6 separate regions of the Homo sapiens genome follow, and all the other regions are linked to region 3. Evidence: promoter capture Hi-C in 16 types of primary human blood cells and fetal thymus (Javierre and others, 2016). All regions are on one chromosome and are shown on one strand. Each heading gives the region's core, a stretch centred on a gene start or on the middle of the fragment in contact. The rest is flanking DNA. Distances are from core to core; before and after follow the strand shown. Region 1 has its middle 68 kb from the start of MYEOV. Region 2 overlaps LOC105369366 (a long non-coding RNA gene). Region 3 holds the start of CCND1 (cyclin D1). Region 4 overlaps LOC338694 (a long non-coding RNA gene). Region 5 has its middle 26 kb from the start of MYEOV. Region 6 has its middle 48 kb from the start of MYEOV.

Region 1 (3,541 bases), core at 557-3,056, 410 kb before region 3:
CTTGTCTGTCACCTTGCTGAACTAACTTATTAGTTTCTGGGAGGTATTGTTTATGTAGATTCATTGGGATTTTCCACAGCGATAATCATGTTATCTATTTTATTTCTCCTTTCTCATATGTATGGCTTTTGAATTCATGTTAATTATTCTGCAAAGAATTGGTACAATTGTCCAGTAAAATCATCCAGGCTTGGAGATTTCTGAAATGATGTCTTTAATTTCCTTAATAGTTATAAGGCTATGCAAATTATCTATTTCATATTGGGTGAGTTGTGGTTAAGAAGTTGATTTATCTAAGTTGTCAAATTTATGTGTGTAGAGTGGCTCATAGTATTCTATTTTATCTTTTTGATGTCTGCAGGGTCTGTAATGATATTCCCGGTTTCATTCTTCATGTTGGCAATTTGCATCTTCTCCTCCTTTTTTTCGTTATCAGTCTTGCTAGAAGTGTGTCCATTTTATTGTTCTCTTCAAAGAGACAGCTCTTTTTTCATTGATTTTATTTTTTTTCAATTTTATTCATGTCTGCTGTTCTCTATTATTTCTTTCTTCTGCTTTCTTTGGGTTGATTTTTCTCTTCTTTCTCTAGTTTCTTGAGGTGGGAACTTAGACTATGGTTTTGAGGCTTTTCCTTCTTTTTGATCATAGGTATTTTGTAGTATAATTTTTCCTCTCAGCATTGTTTTAGCTGTGTCACACAAACACTAGTGTGTTGTATTTTCATTTTCATTAAGTTCAATGTATTTTTCTGTCTTCCTTGAAACTTCCTCTTTGATCCAAAGATAATTTAGAAGTGTGTTGTTTAGTTTCCAAGTGTTCAGAGATTTTCCTGTTATCTTTCTGTTACTGATTTCTAGTTTGATTTCATTGTGTTTGGAGAACATACCCTGTATGATTTATATTTTTTAAAGTTTTTTAGATTGCTTTATGGCCCAGGATATGGTCTATCTATTTTACATGAGCACTTGAAAAGAATGCATATTTTTCTGTTATTGAGGGGAATGTGTTGTAAATATTGATTAGATCCTGGGAGTTGACAGTGTTGAGTGTTTTAGTATTCTTGTTGATTTTCTGTCTAGTTCTATCAATTGTAGAGAGAAAAGTGTTGAAATTTCTAACTCTAATTCTGTACTTGTCTATTTTTCCTTTCAGTTTTCTCAGTTTTTCTTTGGTGCTTTGAAGACTTTTTTCTGTCTTTAGTTTTCAGAAGTTTAATTAGTATGTGTCTTGGTGTGGATTTCTTTGGTTTATCCTATTTACGGTTTGTTCAGCTTCTTGAATCTGTAAGTTTGTGTCTCTTCACAAATTTAGGAAGTTTCCAGCCATTATTTCTGTAAGCATTTTTTCACTATCATGCTCTTTCTCCTTTCCTTCTGGAACTCCAGAAACTTAAATATTAGATTTTTTGTTGTGTTTCTTGACTCTTGGTTCCTTTTGTTGTGTCCCTGAGGCTCTGTTATTTTTTATTTCAGTCTCTTTTCTCTGTGTTGTTCAGATTCAGTAATTTCTGTTATTCTGTCTCCCACTTCACTCTTTCCTCTGTCCTTTCCATTCTTCTGTTCAAGGTGTCAGTGAATTTTTCATTTCTCATACTGTATTTTTCAGTTCTAAAATTTTCCATTTGGTTCTTCTTATCTTCTATTTCATTGCAAAGGCTTTCTATTTTTTATTTGCTTCAAGTGTATTCATAATTGATCCTGGAAGCATTCTGTCATGGCTACTTTAATTATTTTCAGGTAACTCTAACATCTCTGTCATCTTGGTGTTGGCACCTATTGATTGTTGTTTTTCATGCAGCTTGAGATCTTCATGATTCTTGGTATGATGTGTGATTTCCAGTTGAAACTGGGATGTTTCTGTATTATTTAGATCCTGTGGTTCATCTGGATTGTTTTTCTTTTGACATTGCTTTGGCAAGAGAAGGGGGTCTGCTGCCTCATTATTGATAGGTGGAGGTAAAATTAATTTTGGTGCATGGTATAAATTAGAGGTAGGAGTTCATTTTCCCCCATTGGCTCTCTGGTCTCCCCAGCATTATTTACTGAAAAGATCACCCTTCCTTTCCCTTGATTACAGTTGTCCTTATGTCTTAAATCAGAAGACTGTGTAGGTGAGGGTCAGCTCTAGACTCATTGCTTCATTGCTAGTGTCAACTATGGGCCAGGATCCAGGGCTTGGAACCAAGAACCTCTTTGGATTAATGCCTATTAAGATAATATTGAAAATGAAGTAAGTGCAATGGAGACTCATCATTGCATTACAGAGACAGAAGGGGCCCCCAAACTAATCTGGAGTGGTGTACAGGATCAGGGAAGTTGCCCTGAAGTTGATAAGCAGAATGTGGAAGGATGGGCAGGAGTTGTCTAAGAGAAGAGTGTGGCAATAGAAGGGCACCCTGGGCCACAGGGAACAAACCATAGCTGAAAGATGAGGAGTCAAGAAATATTCTGGCACCCATGGGGTACTATTAGCAGTTTAACTTTACAGGAGCTGAAAATTTAAGAAGGGGAATGTCAAGAGATGAGGCTGAACCTTGGCAGGGATGGATCCTTGGACCACATCATGTAGTTGACCCTGTCACATAGCTTGGACTTCACCTTGTGGGTGACAGGAGGCCACCAGGGCTGACAGTAGAGGAAGAACATGGCCATGGAATCCTTGGGAGAAGTGGTGTGGGTTCATTGAAAAGGCCAGGGCAGAGGCTGAAAGACTCATCAGGGGAATGTAGCAGTGATCCGCAGGGGTTGTTTAGGGACCAGTCATGACTGTGGCATGGGGCTGGGAAAATGGGGCCATGATGGCACCTGTTTTCACTTGTGGTATGATTGGACTTTAATGTGGTTCCTATGGTCATCCTGGTTGCAGAGCTGGAGTAGACACCAGATCATCTCACTGCAGTCCTCTCAACACACAGAGACAGAGGATGACCATGGGGGTCAGGGGCAAAGTGAGGAAAGTTCTCTAACCCCCTGGGAGAATAGCAGCACCATCAATGGGCAGATCTGTATTAGGGCTCTCCAGAGAAACAGAACCAATAAGATGTGTACATATACAGAAATATATATATATGTATGTGTGTGTGTGTGTGTGTGTGTGTGTGTGTGTGTGTATAGTATACTAGATGAGGCTGACCTACATTAGGGAGGGCAATCTGCTTTACTCAGTCTATGGATTTTAATGTTCATCTCATCCAGCAACACCCTCACAGACATACCCAGAATGTATGACCAAATATCTGGGCACCCTGTGGCCCAGTTAAGTTGACAAATAAAATTAATTATTATGAGTCCACTCTTTCCCATCCCTGTCAGAGGCAGCAGGGTGCACTAGGGACCACAGACTCTGTTCTTCTCAGCATTGACATATTCCATATTTATTTATTTGTTCTGTGTCTCCTCCCAGATGGGACGTCAGCTCTCTGAGGGCAGGGATTTTGGCTGAGATAACCGTGCAGAGACTCTGGGTTCTGAATGGGTTCAGAGGGGAAGGGAACCATGATGGGGATTATCCTCTTCAACATGGAATAATGATGATGAGGATG
Region 2 (4,068 bases), core at 75-2,574, 470 kb before region 3:
CATCACTCTTGAGGGGTTAACAGGTCATTGTAAGAGCCAGACACAGATGCATTCTCTACTTCTGAGGACAGTCCTGGGGCCAAGGCTTATTGAGCGATCCATATGGGCCTGGGGGCCTTTCTAAGAACATTCCATGCATCCCTTCATCTGCTCTTCACAGACATCCTTCAGGAAGGGGCTGTCATCATCCCTGGGCTTCAGAGAGGCAAAGCAACTTGCTCCCACCCTTGAGCTGGTCAATGGGCATCTGGGGTGCAGACCTGGTTGATCTGACTGGGGGGCCCTCATCCCTTCACCCCTAGGCAAGCTGTCTTCTGGGCACTGCCAGGCTGAATAGGCAGATGCCCACTACAGAGGGTCAAAGACCTGTGGGGACATAGGATGGGTGGGGAATTCTGCCCTGGTGACACTGAACTCAGCCTTGAGGCTGCAGAATGTGTTGTGGTGGTGGAAGGTGGGGGGCTTCCATCTGGGGGCAGGGCTGAGGACCTTGTGTAGGGTGGGACTGGGGAGGGTGGGTTTGGAGAGCTGGGCTGCTGGAGGAGGGGGATGCCTGGTTGCTGGATCCTGACTGCTTTCAGGAGAAATGAGCTCTTGCTTGCAAAGAAACATCTGTTTGGAGCGCTGTGTGCCTAGATGTTTTTACGCATGCCACACAGAATGCGGGAGAGCCTGACTCCACATTCTCTACGTATTTATTGCAAAATAACCTTATCCTAAGAATAACAGGAAAAATTTCACCCACATTCCCAGTACCCTGACAAATCAACTGTCTACATTTTTCCCGTTCCCCTCCGGGCCACACGCTTGTGCGGACATGACTTTGAAGCCACAGTCAAAGAGCAATTGTGTTTGTGCATTCATTTGTTCAGCAAAGACATTTCCCAAGTACCTATCTCCTCTGTATCAGGAAACTGGCTCCTAAAACGAATGGCCTATATTTTCCTTTAGAGTTTTACCACCTATGTAAATATCCTTTATTAATCAGGGTATATTAACTGTTTTAACAAGCAACCCACTAATTGTAGCACCCTAATTCAATACATGTGTATCTCTTGTTCATGACAGTGCAGGGCAGGTTGGGTTGGGCTCTGCTCCATGCAGCCATGCAGGGACCCAGGCCTTTTTTTCTGAATGGCTCTGCCATCCCCTACAGCCATGGAGTCCTCCATTTGGTGCACTGCATTGGATCGGCAGAGGAGCAAACAGAGAGAAGGAGCAGACTGGATTGTGTAGGAAGCTTTTTTCGGCAGGCCTGGAGGTAGTAAACATCACTTCCATCACATTCTACTGGATGGAACACAGACATGTACCTGTACCTACCTGCAAGGGAGGCTGGGAAATGCAGTCCAGCTGAGTGCCCAGGAATGGGGGAGGAACAGGTTTGGTGATCATCTGGCCAGCATCTACAAGCTTACAACACATTGTTTAGTTCTAAAAAATTGAAGGAAGCACAAAACAAATTGTGTAAGGAAATGGCAATGTTGTCACCAAGAGTTGAAAGCTCCCAAAAAAATATAAAACACAAAGGCCAGCTGAGTTCTGGCAAACTCAGGGCAGCAAGCCAGGCTCTGCCCCTCTCTGAGAGAATTGAAGGTCAGACTGTCAATGGGCAAAGGCATGAGTGAGCCCTGGGAAACTGAGGTCTCACGATAGCTGGGCTATCTGATGAGGCTGACCTCTGGGATCATGGCAGAAGGATGGCTAAAGAGAGCAGGTTGCTTTGCATCATCTGCTTCTAAGCTCACCGTGGCCAATTCCTGCTCTCAAGAATAGATCAAAGTTCTCAACTGGTGGAGGCAGCCCAGCAGGAGAAAGAGCAGGAACTTTGCCAGCCCCTGGTCAACATAAGCCAAGCGAAGATAAGATCCTCACCCCATACTCTGTCCTCAGGTCAAAAGGGGGCACAGTGGCAGCAGAAATCTTGTCACATGGCTGTCATCTGTAACGGCAGCGTTCTATGTGGAGTGCGTCACGGCCATCAGTGATCTTCTGGGGGACTGCCTTCACCTGCTGCTTCCTGTATGTCGAGTCTTCTCTTTCTTGGTTTACCTTCTCAGTTGGGTGTAGCACATCCTTCAGTAGCTTTCTGAGAAAGTGTGGCTCGTAGGCAAATTTGTTAGAGACCTCGCCAGCTGAAGGGATCTGTATTCCACCTTCACACTTGCTTAATAATGTGGCTGGCATAGAAGGTTGGGTTAGGAAATAATTTCCCTTCAGAAGCTCAAAAGCATTGCTCCATTGTTTTCTTGCTTCCAGTGGGGCTGCTGAGAATTCTGAAGCTGTTTTGATAACCAGCCCTGGGTATGTCATGTGATTTTTCTCTCTGGAAGTTTGTAGAATCTTCTCTTTGTCCCAAGTGTACTAAAGTTCCACAATGATGTGTCCATGGGGTAGGTCTATGTTCACCTCCTATGCTGGGTATTTTGCGGGCCTTTTTTTTAGTGCCAGGGAATTACCCTGAATTATTTCATTGATCATTTCTTCCCTGCAATTTCCTCTCTCGTATACATCTATAGCTCCTGTTATTCCTGTTATTTGGATGTTGGATCTTCTGTACTTATTTTCTAGATTTTCTCTTTTTTTATTTTTTTGAGACAGAGTCTCACCCTGTTACCTGGGCTGGGGTGCAGTGGTGCAATCTCAGCTCACTGCAACCTCCACCTCCCGGGTTCAAGTGATTCTCATGCCTCAGCCTCCCAAATAGCTGGGATTACAGGTGTGCGCCACCTCATATCTGGTTAATTTTTATATTTTTAAGTGGAGATGGGGTTTTGTCATGTTGGCCAGGCTGGTCTGGAACTTCTGACATCAAGTGATCCACCCACCTCGGCCTCCCAAAGTGTTGGGATTACAGGCGTGAGCCACCACAACCATTGTCCTTATTTCTCCTCCTCATTCTTGCCATCCATCCTCTCCTCTTTTCCTTCCTCCCTCTTGCCCCCTCTCTCTTTTCTTCTCTATCTCTTTCTAATCCCCTTTCCCTCTCTTCTTTTTTTTTTTTGGCCGGGTGCAGTGGCTCACGCCTGTAATCCCAGCACTTTGGGAGGCTGAGGCGGGTGGATCACAAGGTCAGGAGTTCAAGACCAGCCTGATCAATATGGTGAAACCCCGTCTTTACTAAAAATACAAAAATTAGCCGGTTGTGGTGGCGGGTGCCTGTAATCCCAGCTACTTGAGAGGCTGAGGCAGGAGAATCGCTTGAACCCAGGAGGCGGAGGTTGCAGTGAGCCAAGATCGCGCCACTGTACTCTAGCCTGGGTGACAGAGTAACTCTGTCTAAAAAAAAAAAGAAACAAAAAAAAAGTGTTTTTTTTTTTTTTTTTTCTGAAAAGTCTGTTTCCACCCAGTTATGTGTTTCTGTTGATGTTTTTGTCTCTGCTTTTCATGTTGGAGGCTGTTCACAGAAGTCTGGTAACCCTTGGCTGTCAGGTTATGACAGGTTTGGAGACCAAAGAGCTCACTGGAAGTTTAAGAATGGAGCTTGGCCACCATACCCTTCGTTGTAGGATGATATGGGATATTTTTTGAGGTTCCCTTGAGTTGTGGGATTTATAAGGGCAACTGCAATGAGTTCCAAGGCCCGGAATTCCAAGTTCTGGGTGCATTCAATGTCAGATGGTCACTAGGCCATGGCACTTAGGAATGCTTCTAGGTTATATCTTTTTTCTTAAAGAGAAAAAAGAAAGGCCTCTCTGCTGGGGCTCCCTCACTGACCTGTACTGTGAATTCTCTGAAGCCTCTGTCTGCACCCCAGTCCTTGCCCCCAACCCTCCCGATGTCCTGCATCCATTCCTGCTGACTCCACTTTAAAGCACCCTGGTTTGTGGCCCAGAGCTCTCCCTGGCTATAGTGGCCTCTTTTTTTTTCACTTAATAGAATTTTAAACCGGAAGTGTAATTTACATATGGTAAAAGACATAAATGCTAAAGTGTATATATCTCAACGTATATATTCATGTAACAATCAAATTAGAGACCAAGTTACAGCATTTTCTAGCATATCAGAGGTCTCTCTTAGGGACTAATTTCACTAACTTCTCTCTCCCCCAGGTACCCACTGTCCTGA
Region 3 (4,083 bases), core at 1,008-3,507:
GCCGCCAAGCAGGGTTCCCCCAGGTGGGGGCTGGGCAGCTGGCGCTCCCCGCCGGGCCCCAAATTCCAGCGCCGGGCCCCAAATTCCAGCGCCTCCCCCGCGGGTTCCTGGACGGCTCTTTACGCTCGCTAACCGGGCTTGCAATTTTGCGCTCGTCCCTGAGCCGGGAAATCAACGAAGTTCCTAGTCGAGATCTGCCCGGTCCGCCTAGTAACAGCGCCGCGCCCCCATTGGCTCATGCTAATTCCAGTTTCCTCTGTCTTGCGCCCGGGATGGGGGGGTGAAGCTCCCTCCTGGACCCAGAGCCGGTTGTGCCGGAGTGGGCGAGCCTCTTTATGCCCTGCTGCCCCTAGCCGACTTCGGCCCGCTTCGCGCCTCGGGCTGGGCCAGGGCGCACGCGGGGCTCGGGGCCCCTCGCCCCACGGGATGGGAGAGGCCGGGTGATAGCTCCGGGCCCCATAAATCATCCAGGCGGCCGCCGGGTCGGGATTTTATGAATGAAAAAGCAGCTGGGCCGCCCTTGTGCGCGGGCTGATGCTCTGAGGCTTGGCTATGCGGGGGCCAACGCGATTGTGGGTGCTCGGGGAGTGGGGGGGGGCACGACCGTAGGTGCTCCCTGCTGGGGCAACCCATCGCTCCCCATGCGGAATCCGGGGGTAATTACCCCCCCAGGACCCGGAATATTAGTAATCCTAATTCCCGGCGGGGGAGGGGGCGCGGGAGGAATTCACCCTGAAAGGTGGGGGTGGGGGGGGTCGCATCTTGCTGTGAGCACCCTGGCGAAGGGGAGAGGGCTTTTTCTATCAGTTTTCTTTGAGCTTTTACTGTTAAGAGGGTACGGTGGTTTGATGACACTGAACTATATTCAAAAGGAAGTAAATGAACAGTTTTCTTAATTTGGGGCAGGTACTGTAAAAATAAAAACAAAAGTTAAGACAGTAAAATGTCCTTTTATTTTTTAATGCACCAAAGAGACAGAACCTGTAATTTTAAAAACTGTGTATTTTAATTTACATCTGCTTAAGTTTGCGATAATATTGGGGACCCTCTCATGTAACCACGAACACCTATCGATTTTGCTAAAAATCAGATCAGTACACTCGTTTGTTTAATTGATAATTGTTCTGAATTATGCCGGCTCCTGCCAGCCCCCTCACGCTCACGAATTCAGTCCCAGGGCAAATTCTAAAGGTGAAGGGACGTCTACACCCCCAACAAAACCAATTAGGAACCTTCGGTGGTCTTGTCCCAGGCAGAGGGGACTAATATTTCCAGCAATTTAATTTCTTTTTTAATTAAAAAAAATGAGTCAGAATGGAGATCACTGTTTCTCAGCTTTCCATTCAGAGGTGTGTTTCTCCCGGTTAAATTGCCGGCACGGGAAGGGAGGGGGTGCAGTTGGGGACCCCCGCAAGGACCGACTGGTCAAGGTAGGAAGGCAGCCCGAAGAGTCTCCAGGCTAGAAGGACAAGATGAAGGAAATGCTGGCCACCATCTTGGGCTGCTGCTGGAATTTTCGGGCATTTATTTTATTTTATTTTTTGAGCGAGCGCATGCTAAGCTGAAATCCCTTTAACTTTTAGGGTTACCCCCTTGGGCATTTGCAACGACGCCCCTGTGCGCCGGAATGAAACTTGCACAGGGGTTGTGTGCCCGGTCCTCCCCGTCCTTGCATGCTAAATTAGTTCTTGCAATTTACACGTGTTAATGAAAATGAAAGAAGATGCAGTCGCTGAGATTCTTTGGCCGTCTGTCCGCCCGTGGGTGCCCTCGTGGCGTTCTTGGAAATGCGCCCATTCTGCCGGCTTGGATATGGGGTGTCGCCGCGCCCCAGTCACCCCTTCTCGTGGTCTCCCCAGGCTGCGTGTGGCCTGCCGGCCTTCCTAGTTGTCCCCTACTGCAGAGCCACCTCCACCTCACCCCCTAAATCCCGGGGGACCCACTCGAGGCGGACGGGGCCCCCTGCACCCCTCTTCCCTGGCGGGGAGAAAGGCTGCAGCGGGGCGATTTGCATTTCTATGAAAACCGGACTACAGGGGCAACTCCGCCGCAGGGCAGGCGCGGCGCCTCAGGGATGGCTTTTGGGCTCTGCCCCTCGCTGCTCCCGGCGTTTGGCGCCCGCGCCCCCTCCCCCTGCGCCCGCCCCCGCCCCCCTCCCGCTCCCATTCTCTGCCGGGCTTTGATCTTTGCTTAACAACAGTAACGTCACACGGACTACAGGGGAGTTTTGTTGAAGTTGCAAAGTCCTGGAGCCTCCAGAGGGCTGTCGGCGCAGTAGCAGCGAGCAGCAGAGTCCGCACGCTCCGGCGAGGGGCAGAAGAGCGCGAGGGAGCGCGGGGCAGCAGAAGCGAGAGCCGAGCGCGGACCCAGCCAGGACCCACAGCCCTCCCCAGCTGCCCAGGAAGAGCCCCAGCCATGGAACACCAGCTCCTGTGCTGCGAAGTGGAAACCATCCGCCGCGCGTACCCCGATGCCAACCTCCTCAACGACCGGGTGCTGCGGGCCATGCTGAAGGCGGAGGAGACCTGCGCGCCCTCGGTGTCCTACTTCAAATGTGTGCAGAAGGAGGTCCTGCCGTCCATGCGGAAGATCGTCGCCACCTGGATGCTGGAGGTGCGGGGCTTCGGGCGGCTCTCTTAAGACTTCCCTGCAACTTGTTGCCCAGACCCACGTTTCTTTGCTACTCACCCCCCTCCCTTCTCTCCCGCTAGAACTTTGAAGTTTGCCGTGGTGTTTCTAGGGATCCGTATTTTCAAAATAAAAATTGCGGGTATTTTCTGAAGGAGGAAGGGGTGGGGGTGGGGGTGCTAGAAGTAGCGTTTCGTGGGAGGGGAGAAGGGGGTCCGGGAGGGGTGCCTTCGGGAGAAGCCAGTGCCAGGGGCACCCCAATGGGCCCGAGGGTGCGGGCTGGCAGGCTGGGTGCGCTTTGTGTCCCCCGCCTGCGCCCCAGCCCGGCTGCGCCTCAGCGGCCGGGAGCCGCCAACTCCGGGGGGAGGGGGCATAGATTTGATTTTTAAATTAATATCCATGGACACGTATGCAAGGGCCGCTCGTGCCAGTATTATGCGCCATCTTTGCTCTTTTATTGCAAAGCAAAAGTGTTTATTAATAATTGGGGGCAGGGTGGGGGCGGGGAGCGGCCGCCGGGCGCTGGGGCCGCAGCTAAGGGCCGCGCGGCTGCCGGGAGCCCGCGGGAGGGGCGCAGGGACGCGGCATGGGTAGTTTTGGGGGGACGCCGCTAGGGAAGGGGGGGCCTTTGTTCAAGCAGCGAGTCCCGGGGCGCCCCGAACGGGCAGCCTGGGCCGGAGAGCACGGCGAGCTGCAAGGTCGCGTGGCCCCCAAGACGCCAGGGCTTGATCCCCGTCTGCAGGGATATCGGCTTGGAGGACCTTCTCCGAGCGAGCCGGGGGCCTGGGAGCACATTTTCAGACCTTCGGTGGGCGCCTGAGGGGCCCGCAAGTATTTTAAAATAATTTTTGAAAGTGCGGCGTGGTGCCCTTGCGAGAGGGAAACGCCGCCCGCGCCCAGGGGGAAGGGGGGGCCCCGGAGTTTGAATTCCTGGGGCTCCCCCCGGAGCCTGTAACGAACTCCCAACCCCCGGCCTGGGTAAAGGGTCGCCCGAGGGTCATTTTCAGGGTTTTTTTATGCACTTAGTTATTTTTTTAATATTTTTAAATATTTTTTGAAAAGATGACGTCTGGGGAAATGCGGCGCGGCGGCCTGGGACGCCACCTTTGTGTCTCGCAGGCGCGGCGCCCAACCCCGCGGCCCGTTCCGCGGCCCCGCACCCCAGTTGGTGTCGACCCCCAGTCAGAGGGACCACGGAGCTCCAGGGCGGGCCAGGGTCCCGGGGGCCGGCAGCCCGCGCCGCCGCGCACGCCGCCCAGCTGTGCCCGCTCCCGCCCCCACCGTGCCAGCCTCGCGGGGACTTTCCCTTTCAGTTTCGGGGAGGGTGGGTACTGGGGACGCGCGGGGGAGGGGGCGCATCACGGGAAGCTCCTGCCGCCCCCAGCCCCGACCCCTCGGCGCCCTCCAGACCTGGCGGCCCTGCCAAGCGCGATGGGGGGTGCGGGGGCGTGCGGG
Region 4 (3,799 bases), core at 1,051-3,550, 500 kb before region 3:
AGACCAGCCTGGCCAACACAGCGAAACCTCATCTCTACTAAAAATACAAAAATTAGCTGGGCATGGTGGCACATGCCTGTAATCCCAGGTACTCGGGAGGCTGAGGCAGGTGAATTGCTTGAACCTGGGAGGTGGAGGTTGCAGTGAGCCAAGATTGTGCCACTGCACTCCAGCCTGGGCGACAGAGCGAGACTGTTTCAAAAACCAACCAACCAACCAACCAACAAAAAACACCATAAGAAGCATGAAAAGACAAACTACAAACTGGGAGAAGATACTGCAATGCTTAGAACTGACAAATAATTTGTATGAAGAAAAATTTTTTTTGTTGTTGCTGTTGTTTTTTTGAGATGGAGTCTCGCTCTGTCACCAGGCTGGAGTGCAGTGCCATGATCTCAGCTCACTGCAATCTCTGCCTCCCGGGTTCAAGTGATTCTCCTGACTCAGCCTGCCAAGTGGCTGAGATTAAAGGCGTGCACCACCACGCCCAGCTAATTTTTGTATTTTTAGTAGAGACGGGGTTTCACCATGTTGGCCATGATGGTCTCGATCTCTTGACCCCGTGATCCACCCACCTTGGCCTCCCAAAGTGCTGGGATTACAGGTGTGAGCCACCACGCCCGGCTGCTATAGGTTTTATTATTATTCAGATATGATGAGGCCAACAGATCAGGAGATAACCATTATTGAAAAGATAGTTTGTTACTCACAGATCTGCAGGGGAGGGGACATGCTGCACCCCGGGGTGGATGGGGGGCACAGGGAAGCAGGGGAGTTGGTCTGGAGGGATAGGGACTAAGGGGAAAGTGTGGGCAAGAGCCTTGATTGTGGTTTCTGTAGGAAAAAACGAGTGAGGCAGGGCAAGTAGGCATAGGATGGGCTAGTTTGAATAATGTTACAGGCTCTGGGGCACAGGGACTGTCCCTGCCTGTCTGGTACCTGGCCCTGGGGTGATTATGGCAGGAGGATGGTAGCCCTGAGTATGAGAACCTGATAGAAGAGGTCGTTGCAAATGTGAGCTCTGGATTAGTTAGTTGGTTTACATTTGAAAGGTGCACTCACAGATGACTTCATTTCTAGAAATTGGCTAATCCTGGGAGGGGCCATCCCTCCAGGGTCAGCACGTTCCCAGATGTCAAAGCATCAGAATACAGGAAAAAGAAGTAATGGTTAATACAATGAAGAATGCCTACAAATTCCTAAGAAAAAGAAACAACCAAAGACTCAACTGGTACTTCACAAGAGAAGAAACCCCAAAGGCAATCAGCATAAGAAAAGTCAATATGAAAATGCAACCCCGAACTATACCGAGACACTATGTCTCACCCACCAGCTTGGCAAGCACTCAAAAGCCCGTGTTGGTGAGGATGAGAAGTGTCAACCTTAAACAGTGAGATTCAGAAACTATGATTAAATGTAGAGATTCTTTGAGCCCAAAGCATGAGGATAGCCACTTGGGCAACACTGACTCCAAACAAATGGGGTCACTGTTTCAAAGTGGAGAAGTTAAGATTTCTCTTACATAGGCAGAGACAGAGAAATTTCAGCAGGATTACAACATTTTTCATACACGATCAGTGCGTACAGTGACTTGATCGGTTACAGATTGCTGCATTCCAAGGAAAATACTTTATTACTCCATGAGGAGGGGTAGAAATTCAAGGGATTCTTATCTCTGAAGTCGTTTGGTCTTCTTAATTATTTATAGGGAAAAAAAAAGGTAGAAGTTGCAGTTGCATTCCATGTGACTCAAGTTGCATAGCCATGTTCCTCTCAAGGCTCTGAATACAGTTCCAACAGCTTTAAGTCTGAATTCTTTAATTTCACAGAAGCAACTGGAAGGAACCCCAACTAAGCTATTGTTGGAAGCGTCCATGAAGCCAGATGCATATTCCCTTCAGCTAAGCGTATATACTCGTAGGTATGTTCCCAAGAGAAACCTCTAGCATGTGTCTTTATTTAAACATTTTTGGTTGAGTATACAATTCTAGGTAGTCACTTCACTCTAGCACCTTAAAAATGTCATTCCACTGTCTTCCGCTCATCCATTGCTGTTGAGAAGTCAGCTGTGGGCCAACCTTGCCTCTCTGGCTGCTTCTAAGCTACACTCCACTGTAATAATCATTCTTGATGTCCTGTAATTTGGTATCTTGAAATCATGAGCCAAACTATAGCCAGGCTTGTTTCTATCCTTACTATCCTTGTGTTTTCATGGGTGCACAAAAATCATATCACAAACCCTCTGGCCACAACCCCCAACATCTGTGTTTTGCCTTCTGCCCCATAGGAGACACCCTCACTTAACTTTCCACCACCAAGGGGAGAGTCTTGACTACTATGGTACTTTATTACTATTATTACTATGTCAATAGTAATAGTAGTGATAGTAAAGTCTCCCCTTGTGTTCCCCTGCTCCCTCTGCCTCCTGACCAACCCTCGTCCTTCCTCATGTAGACTGCATAGCATGGCATGCCCCCTGCTCCTGGGAACTGTAAGTAATAAACTTCTTTTAAGGCAGCTGTCTCCATGTCTGTCATGTTAATGTACCTGATTAAAACAAAATCCCAGGTACATTTAAAAACACCTCTTGGTATTGTATGGTGTCACTATGATGTCCCCAGCTATGGATTGCTTATCACTCATCCTAGGTTGGATTCTTTGGGATGCCCAAATCTGGGGATTGATGTTTTTCATCTGTTCTAAAAACTTCTCAGCCATTTCCCCTTCAGATCTAGCCTTTGCCCTATTCTATTCTCTTCTACTGGAGCTCCTAGGACCATACAGTGTAGCTTTTACTCCACCCCTCATGCCTCTTGGCAGCTCCTTCTTGTCTCCCATTGTCTCTCTGTGCTGTATTCTGGGCCATAGCTCAGATCTGTCTTTCCGTTCACCAACATAATTTTCAGCCATGTCTGACCATCTGTTAGTATCACTTAATATATTTTCATCTCTGGAATTACATTTAGGTCTTTCCAAATCTGCTTGGTCATTTTATAATCTCTTGTTCTTTATGTTTTAAATATTTTCTCTTAATCCTTTAATCATGCTTATTTTATATTATATTCTGATAATTTTGACAGGTCTGGGTCTGATTCTACTTTCTGTTGTTTCTTCTGACAGCAAAAACCTTTTGATAGATTATGTTCATCTAGAGGTTATTCATGCTAACATCTCCAGCTGCACGGTGGAGCTTTATTTTTCTTCTTTTATTTTTGGTTTTCTGTTTTTCTTTCTTTCTTTTCTTTTCTTTTTTTTAAACTCTTAGCATGGTGGAGCTTTATGGCATATTCTGAGCAATGTCCTGGTTTCTATTGCCTTCAGTTGCATTGCCCAATGTGGGACAGGAAATCTCACATACACAACAGCTTCTTGTTTCAGTGCTGCATTGTACTGCAATATTTTTGAAGATTTGATTTAATTTAATTTAATTTTATTTCCCGAGACAGAGTCTTGCTGTGTCACCCAGGGTGGAATGCAGTGGCGCAGTCTCGGCTCATTGCAACCTCCACCTCCTGGGTTCAGACGATTCCCCTGCCTCAGCATCCCGAGTAGCTGAAGTTATTTAAAGTGAAAATTAGGGATTCAAACTTAGGTTATGAGTCAACCACGTGTGGGGACGCAAGGCAAACACCCGGTAGAGGTTGAATAGATTACGGTTTATGCTCAGCTGGGTTCATACAAAAGCAGGGAATGGCAACTTTATTTCTGTCTCCTCCTTTCTGCAGGATCTGAAAATGAGTTTTAATATCTACTAGAAGCTATACTTGATTTCAGAATTATCAAAGTATGAAAAATACAT
Region 5 (3,830 bases), core at 248-2,747, 370 kb before region 3:
AAGATAATTGCCAGGACTGTTTGCCTCCATGTGGGCCTCAAGGTCAGTTGCCTGGGCAGTCTTGTTAGGGAGGAGGAGATAAAGGGGGCTCTGGCCTCTGTTTCTCGTGGAGGTGCTGCCTGGGGTGCCCATCGCAGGTGAACAGGGTGTGTGTGCCTGGGCAGGGTTGGGGCACGAACTTTTCAAGCCAGGACAATGTCAGAGCCTGGGCCACATTCTATTGAGCATGGCTTCCCTGGGACCCTGTAGCTGGTCAATGTGGACATTGGCAATGAAATGCCAGAGACCTTGAATGACAACTAGAACAGCCCTGCTGTGAACTAGTCAGAAAGTCAGATGTTCCTGCTCTGACACTCACAGCTGTGTGGCGGGGGCAATTGAAAATAACTCTAGCCCCAATTTTCCCATCTACGCAGTGGGTACAACTTCATCCATCTCCAGGGTGGTGTGCAAGAGGGCTTTGTGATCACCCTGGTGGGCTGTGTGTCAGCCCCCTGCACATTTCTTTGTTCAGTCTCTGCCTCCAGAGTTCAGTCTCTGCCTCTAGAGAGAAGCACTGTTTTTGCAAAAGGCTGCAGATGTGGGGGCCCCTGCACCTGGTGCAGAGAAAGCATTTAATCAACGTTGGTTAGACCAAGGGTCCCTAACTGGTCCGTGGCCTGTTAGGAACTGGAGATGAATGGTGGGTGAGGGAGCCAAGCTTCATCTGTATTTACAGCCACTCCCCATCACTCACATGACGGCCTGAGCTCCACCTCCTGTCAGATCAGCGGCAGCATTAGACACTCATAGGAGTGCAAACCTTACTGTGAACTGCGTATGTGAGGGATCTAGGTTGCACGCTCCTTATGAGAATCTAATGCCTGATGATCTGTCAGTGTCTCCCATCACCCTAAGATGGGACCATCTGGTTACAGGAAAATAAGCTCAGGGCTCCCACTGATTCTACATGATGGTGAGTTGTAGAATTATTTCATTATATAATGTAATAATAATGGAAATAAAGTGCATGATAAATGTAATGCACTTGAATCATCCTGAAACCATCCCCCCAACCCCTGGTCCAGGGAAGAATTGTCTTCCGTGAAACTGGTCCCTGGTGCCAAAAAGGTTGGGAACCGCTGGGTTAAATGAGGGGAGGAAGGAAAGGCTGACTGATGTGTACTCCAGGAAGGCACCCCAGACTCAAGGTTGCCTGGCTCAGGCAAGGCCATGGCCAGCCGCAGAGGGACGGAGGGAGAGAGGGAGGAAGATGGGGCAGGAATGTCAAGGGGAAGAGAAGGAGTTGGCCAGTGCTCAGGAGCAAGCGATAAGTAAGCAGGGCCGAGGATTAGGAAAACACTGAGCGGAAGGAGGCGTGGAGGGACCGTTGCAATCAGATGGGAAACCAGATTAGATGCTGAATCAATGGAAAAGATCCCCGCCGGATCAAAGGCGCTTCTGGGGAAATGTGAAAAGCTATTCAGGGTCAGGAGGCAGGCCCCAGAGGAGGGGCCCAGGCAGCCCAGCCAGCAGCCAGGGAGTCTGTGGAGCCTGGGGAATGGGGCAACAGAGAGCCAGCCTCGGTGCCCGTTACACCCACGGGCCCGAGGTAGCCACTCACAGGCTGTTTGGGGCCAGACTTCCCAGATTCTGGGACACCAGGGCATTGGAGGCTCTTGGCTGGTGGAAATGGCAGAGATCGGAGGGGGTGGGAACAGACTGGTCTTTATTCCTATTCCAGGGATAGAGCCACCTGCATGAGCTTTTTGGGTACCTCGGGAACTTCCCCTCCAGGTTGCAAGCTGTAGGCTCTGCTAGTCTGTGGGGACTGCACCCTGTCTCCAGAACCCCAGGAGGGGCTGTGTTTGGCCCTCATACATCTTTGCTGGTGGCATTGTGGGCTTTGGTGCCATATAACCCCAGAGAGGCTGTGCCCACCAGGCAAGGAAGGCACCTTTATCCGTCACTGAATGTGGGCCCAGGCCTGGTCCCTGGAGCTCTCTAAGCATCCTCCCCAGCCACATCAGTGCTGGGCCAGAGCACAGGAGCCAAGCACTTCAGGGCGGCAGAAACAGCATGGGCTGTGTTTCTCAAAAAGGATTCCAGGGAATGCTGGTCCCATAAGACAGTCCAGAAATAGAACTTAGGAGGTTAAATCAGTTTGAGAAACCCAGCTTGCTCTCTCCTCTCAGAGAGACAGAATAAAAGCCCCAGCAAGTTCTCTAAAGACTTTGCTTCATCCTGTGGTCCCCAAACTCCCTTGATCCTGTTAACATCCAGTGGAACTGGAATACACTTTGGAAAGTGACGATCAAGCTTGCCACGCTCTCTCTGCACTAAGCGGGCACCTGTGGTGAATGAGCTTGGTTTTCTGGCCCTCGAGCTCGCGAATGGGTTTTGTTTGGCAGATGGGTGTGTGACGTCCACCTCAAATGCAGCTTCCACGTTCCCCTTCTGCCACATGCCTGGGGAGCTTCACAGGGGAGGCGTGCTGAGAAATCTCCCTGCTATGAGGCATTGATGGGCATCTGTTCCCTGGGGTGGGGGCCTCTTTCTGCCTGTGTGGTGGGAAGGAAAATGGCTGGGCCTCCCAGAGTGTTGGGCTCTATCCTGGCCTTAGGCTTGGGGTCCCACCCAGCTTCCCTGAGACCGCAGAGGGAGATTCTTCAGGCTGATGGTCCTGGGAGGCTGGGGCCATGGGGGTCCCCTCGTCCTGCCTAGGAAGAGAGTAAAGGAAGGTGGCCCAGGGAGGCCCTCTGGGCCTAGCAACAGTAGCCACACCACTGCTTCTCATGTACAGAGGAGGCCAGGAAATGAGAGGCCTGGGCACAGAGTGGCCTTCTAGATGCCCAACCTCAGAGCAGGGAGTGACCGGGGGCACACCAGAGGCTGAGAGGGCCCAGGCCAGTCGGGAGCCATAGTGGCCTGGACGGGGCTCAGCACGGGGGGCCGGCAGGGGAGAGAGAGGTCCAGTGGGTCAGAGTTGGGGTGTAGGCGGCGTGCAAAGGGATGTGGGAAGGGATGGGGTCAAGGAGCTTTGGAGTTGAGCTCCGAATGTGCCTTGGAGCCCTGAAGGCTGCTCCTGGGAAGGGAACCTGATTCATCTCTGTGAGTTTCAGGCAGAACCCAGACCTATAATGAGCAAGGTTACAGTAGCCAGGGGTCCAGAGTGAGTGGTGAGCTCCCCACTCCTGGAGCTGGGCCCTGCTGGCTGCCAGCCAGTCAGAGGCAGCATGTGGTCTCGATGGCTGAGATTATGGACGTTGTAATCTTCATGCATTCATTCAGCACCTGCTGCATGCAAAGCACAGTTCTGGGTTTGAAGCCCAGCTCTTCCACTTCCTTGCTGTGTGACCTTGGGCAAGTCACTTAACCTCTCTGAGCCCTTTCCCTTTCCTTTAAAATGTCTGCACTTTTCATTTCTTGGCCAGGTGGAAAAGACTGAGTCTGAAAACTGGGGCCTCAGACAACCCTCAAGGAGTGTGGGAATTTCAGGCCCCCAAGAGGGACCACCTGTCCTGGTCACCGATAGGGCTGAGTGGAGGTGTGGGGGTGTAGGCCTTTCCTTCCAGCTCGCCTCCAGGCCCCAGCTATACTGTCTCAGCCTTCATGTGACCCCAGAAACTTCCAGAAGAGTGGCCCTTGGAGGCCCTCCCAACCTCTGGTGGGCCTGGTGCTCCCTCCCACACCCACACGAGCCTGGGAAACAGCTCTGTGGGCTCTGTGACTCGAGGTGGTGTGAGGAGCCCTGGGTGGGCTTGGTTTGCTGAGTCCGAGTGTGGAATGGGAGCACACAGGGCCTCCAGGGGAGCTGGAGCTGCAGGCCTGGGGCTGGGGGAACCCTGCGG
Region 6 (3,520 bases), core at 922-3,421, 390 kb before region 3:
GTATCTTCATGAGAGACCCTCAGCCAGCACTGCCTAGCCCAGCCCTGTGATCCACAGAAACTGTGAGAGTAGCAAATGTCTATTGTTTAACCCTCCATGATGGGGGAATTTGTTACACAGCAATGAATAACTGATACATGGGGCATGGAGGGAAACCTGGCGATGCCCTGGTGCAGTCCCCATGGGGGTGAGGTGGAAGGGATGTAGCTTGGGAGGGCCTTCCCTGCTGAGTTGGGGACCTCACCCCTCAGCCTCTGGGCCCTGTGGAGCCATGGCAAGCTGATGCATGATAAGCTTTTGTTTAATGAAGGTCACTCTGTACAGGGGGTCGTTCACTCCAGGAAGCTATCCTTGACCACCTCCCTGTATCAGGCCGGGCTGCCTGCCTTTATAGGATCCCCAAGCCCTGAACTTGCCCTGCACTGCACCTGTTATTAGTCAATATTGTGATGGTCCAGCTGACTATATGTCCCCACTACTGGACTATGTGCTTGGGGTGAAGTGTTAGTGTAGACAGGGCAGTAAATATGTCTGTCTTGCTCACGGTGTAACCCCAGTACCATGTATAGGACCTGCTATGCAGTACGGACTTTGATATGATTTGGCTCTGTGTCCCCACCCAACTTTCATCTGGAATTATAATCCCCATGTGTCGAGGGAGGGACCAGGTGGGAGGTGATTGGATCGTGAAGGCAGTTTCCCCCATGCCGTTCTTGTGATAGTGAGTGCGTTCTCATGAGCTCTGATGGTTTTATAAGGCAGTCTTCCCTGCTCTTGCTAGCTCTCTCTTTCCTGCTGCCATGTGAAGAAGGTCTTTGCCTCCCCTTCACCTTCTGCCATGATTGTAAGTTTCCTGAGGCCTCCCCAACCATGCAGAACTATGAGTCAATTAAGCTTTTTTCTTCATAAATTACCCAGTCTCGGGAAGTTCTTTATAGTAATGTGAAAACAGACTAATACAGACTTTTTACATGTTACTGAGCAGACACAGGATGAGTTACAATCTGATGGGCCCTCTGGGCTGTAGGGCAAGAGTCTCTGGCATCCTCATTTTACAGCTGTGACCCAGGAGGGAGGATCTCCTACACTGGGCAACTGCAGCTTCCAGCCCTGCAGGCTGTGACTCCTCTTGGATCTCATCCCCAATCCCTGGACTTTCCTCCTCTGCACCACCCACCTTGACACCCATCTGGCTGCCACGAGTAGTTTCCATCAGAGCCAGAGTTTGGGTGAAAGGAGTTTCCAGAAGGTGTCCCCTACTCATTCAGTAGATATTCACTCAGGGCCCACTGTCCTGGAGAAACAAAGAAGTGAGTGCTAGGAAGAGAGATTAACTAGGATGAGGGGCTGGGGGTGTCTGGGGGTGGGTGTGGGGGCTGTCTGAGTCATGGTGTCAGGGCGTGCTGTACTGACAAGGGGCATTTGAATAGATCCCTGAGAAATGTCTGAGAGTGAGCCCTGTTGGTACCTGGGGAGGAGTGCTCCTGGCTACGGCAGCCACAGTGTGTGCAAAGGCCCTGAGGCAGGAGTTTGCTTGGTGTGTTGGAGGAGCAGCAAGGGGATCAGTGTGGCTGCAGCAGAGTGAGTGCAACCGAGAGCTGATGAGGTCAGGAGGTGGGGGCCAGGCAGGCCAGGGAGGGCCTCGTGATGTGGCTGGAGAAGGTGAAGTGCTTGTTCCTGGCCTGGGAGCTTATCTCAACGGTTCCTATGCTCCCAGCTCTCTGACATTGGCCCACGGCAGCCCCAGAATGGATGCTTTGCAACATCTAACAGTTTGGGGGCTAAAATTAGGTGCCAAGCTGGGTTAGGGCCAGCAGAATGCCACTACATATGCTTGGCATCTGCATGGCAAGGGGAAAATGTTGCTGCTGCCTCTTGTCCATGTTGCTGTACCTCAGCGACTTCCAGAGTAAAATTCAACGTCTGCGGCCTGGAGTTGGAGGCTCTTCTGTGTCTAGTCCCAGCTTGTGTTTCCAGCCTGAGCCCACCTTGCAGGCTGAACTTCCCCTCCCCTCCAAGCTGTGAGCTGAGGTCCAGGCTACTGCCTCCCTCTTCCTAAAATGCTCTTTCTGGCTACCTTGCCTGTTCTCCCCCTTGGAGTCTGAGCTCAAGGGCACCTGCTCCGTGACGCTTCCCTACACCCCAGCCCAACAGGTGGCGGGTCTTTTTTCTGCCGCGCAGCTCCCGCCGCACACTGGTTTCTTCTGGCTTGTATTGTTTCTGATGAGATGTCTTCATCATTCTTATCTTTGTCTCCCTGTAAGTAATGTGTAGTTTTTTGCTACTTTATTGAGGTATAATTTATATCCTGTCAAGTTAATGCTTTTGAGTGTATACTTCTGTGAGTTCTGACAAACACACACAGTTGTTTAATTACCTGCACAGTCAAGATACAGAATGTTTCCATCACCCCTGAGGGTGCCTCATTCCCACCCTCAACTCCTAGAAACCACTTAATATTAGTCTGTTGGGGCTGCTACAAAGAAGACCATAGACCAGGGGCTTTAAACAACAGACATTTATTTTTGCTCGTTCTGGAGGCTAAAAGTCCAAGATCAATGTGTGATTAGGGTTGGTTTCTATTTTCTCTCTCTCTCTTTTTTTTTTTTTTGAGACAGTCTTGCTCTGTCACCCAGGCTGGAGTGCCGTGGTGAGATCTTGACTCACTGCAACCTCTGCCTCCTGGGTTCAAGTGATTGTCCTGCCTCAGCCTCCTAGGTAGCTGGGATTACAGGTGCCTGCCACCATGCCTGGCTAATTTTGTGTGTGTGTGTGTATTTTTAGTAGAGATGGGGTTTTGCTATGTTGGCCAGGCTGGTCTCGAACTCCTGACATCTGAGCCTGGCCAGGGTTGGGTTCTTGTGAGTCCTCTCTTCCTGGCTTGGAGATGGGTGTCTTTCTGCTGTGTCTTCACATGGTGGGAAGAGAGAAAGAGAGAAAGAGAGAAAGAGAGAGAAAGAGATATGGTATGTCTTCTTCTTCTTCTTCTTTTTTTTTCCCGAGACGGAGTCTAGCTCTGCTGCCAGGCTGGAGTGCAGTGGTGCAATCTTGACTCACTGCAACCTCCTCCTCCTGGGTTCAAGGGATTCTCCTGCCTCAGCCTCCCGAGTAGCTGGGATTACAGGCATGCGCCACCACGCCTGGCTAATTTTTGTATTTTTAGTAGAGAAGGGGTTTCACCATGTTGGCCAGGCTGGTCTCAAACTCCTGACCTCAGGTGATCCTCTGGCCTCTCAAGTGTTGGGATTACAGGCGTGAGCCACCATGCCCGGCCAAGATTGTGTCTTAATTCAACACTGTGTACCTTTCATGTTGTGCAGTGCCAGGCATGTTGCTGTGTTTGTTTATTACTTGTAATTTACTAGATTCTTCTATTTCTTGACCTTCTGGAATTGAACACAATCAATTGCTATTAGTTATTTATTTATTTGCTTTTTTATTGTTTTCTTAAGCTTGTGAGGTCTTTAGGTGAGAGTGGGAAGGGAGTGGCTTCCAACACACGAAACATCCAAGGAAGAAG

The links. Contacts are between HindIII fragments. The CHiCAGO score rates a contact against its expected background, and 5 or more counts as called.
Region 1: a fragment that was not itself captured here is called in contact with the fragment with the promoter of CCND1 in region 3 in 3 of 17 cell types (M0 macrophages, M1 macrophages and M2 macrophages); the score reaches 6.7 in M0 macrophages.
Region 2: a fragment that was not itself captured here is called in contact with the fragment with the promoter of CCND1 in region 3 in 5 of 17 cell types (M1 macrophages, megakaryocytes, activated CD4 T cells and 2 more); the score reaches 7.3 in M1 macrophages.
Region 4: a contact is called between a fragment that was not itself captured here and the fragment with the promoter of CCND1 in region 3, in 2 of 17 cell types (M1 macrophages and activated CD4 T cells). The highest score is 5.8, in M1 macrophages.
Region 5: a fragment that was not itself captured here is called in contact with the fragment with the promoter of CCND1 in region 3 in 4 of 17 cell types (endothelial precursors, M0 macrophages, M1 macrophages and 1 more); the score reaches 9.6 in endothelial precursors.
Region 6: a fragment that was not itself captured here is called in contact with the fragment with the promoter of CCND1 in region 3 in 2 of 17 cell types (M1 macrophages and M2 macrophages); the score reaches 7.9 in M1 macrophages.

The regions. Positions count from the first base shown.
Region 1 is chr11:69,224,704-69,228,244 of GRCh38, forward strand. No RefSeq gene overlaps it. Among named protein-coding and RNA genes, the nearest start is that of MYEOV, 68 kb to the right of the region's middle. The HindIII fragment of the contact is 4,482 bases long and covers 1-3,541 here.
Region 2 is chr11:69,173,673-69,177,740 of GRCh38, forward strand. LOC105369366 (a long non-coding RNA gene) reads left to right here. Exons shown (of 3, transcript XR_950256.3): 2 at 1,894-2,022; 3 at 4,053-4,068. Among named protein-coding and RNA genes, the nearest start is that of SMIM38, 20 kb to the left of the region's middle. The HindIII fragment of the contact is 173 bases long and covers 1,239-1,411 here.
Region 3 is chr11:69,638,899-69,642,981 of GRCh38, forward strand. CCND1 (cyclin D1) reads left to right here and starts at 2,258. Exons shown (of 5, transcript NM_053056.3): 1 at 2,258-2,613. The coding sequence starts at 2,416. RefSeq lists enhancers at 1-82, 83-1,021, 2,529-3,231 and a silencer at 3,854-3,993. The HindIII fragment of the contact is 14,749 bases long and covers 1-4,083 here.
Region 4 is chr11:69,143,591-69,147,389 of GRCh38, forward strand. It overlaps LOC338694 (a long non-coding RNA gene), which reads right to left. Exons shown (of 3, transcript NR_104161.1): 3 at 3,638-3,799. Among named protein-coding and RNA genes, the nearest start is that of SMIM38, 10 kb to the right of the region's middle. RefSeq lists a silencer at 1,313-1,372. The HindIII fragment of the contact is 5,522 bases long and covers 1-3,799 here.
Region 5 is chr11:69,266,228-69,270,057 of GRCh38, forward strand. No RefSeq gene overlaps it. Among named protein-coding and RNA genes, the nearest start is that of MYEOV, 26 kb to the right of the region's middle. The HindIII fragment of the contact is 1,598 bases long and covers 699-2,296 here.
Region 6 is chr11:69,244,127-69,247,646 of GRCh38, forward strand. No RefSeq gene overlaps it. Among named protein-coding and RNA genes, the nearest start is that of MYEOV, 48 kb to the right of the region's middle. The HindIII fragment of the contact is 2,558 bases long and covers 893-3,450 here.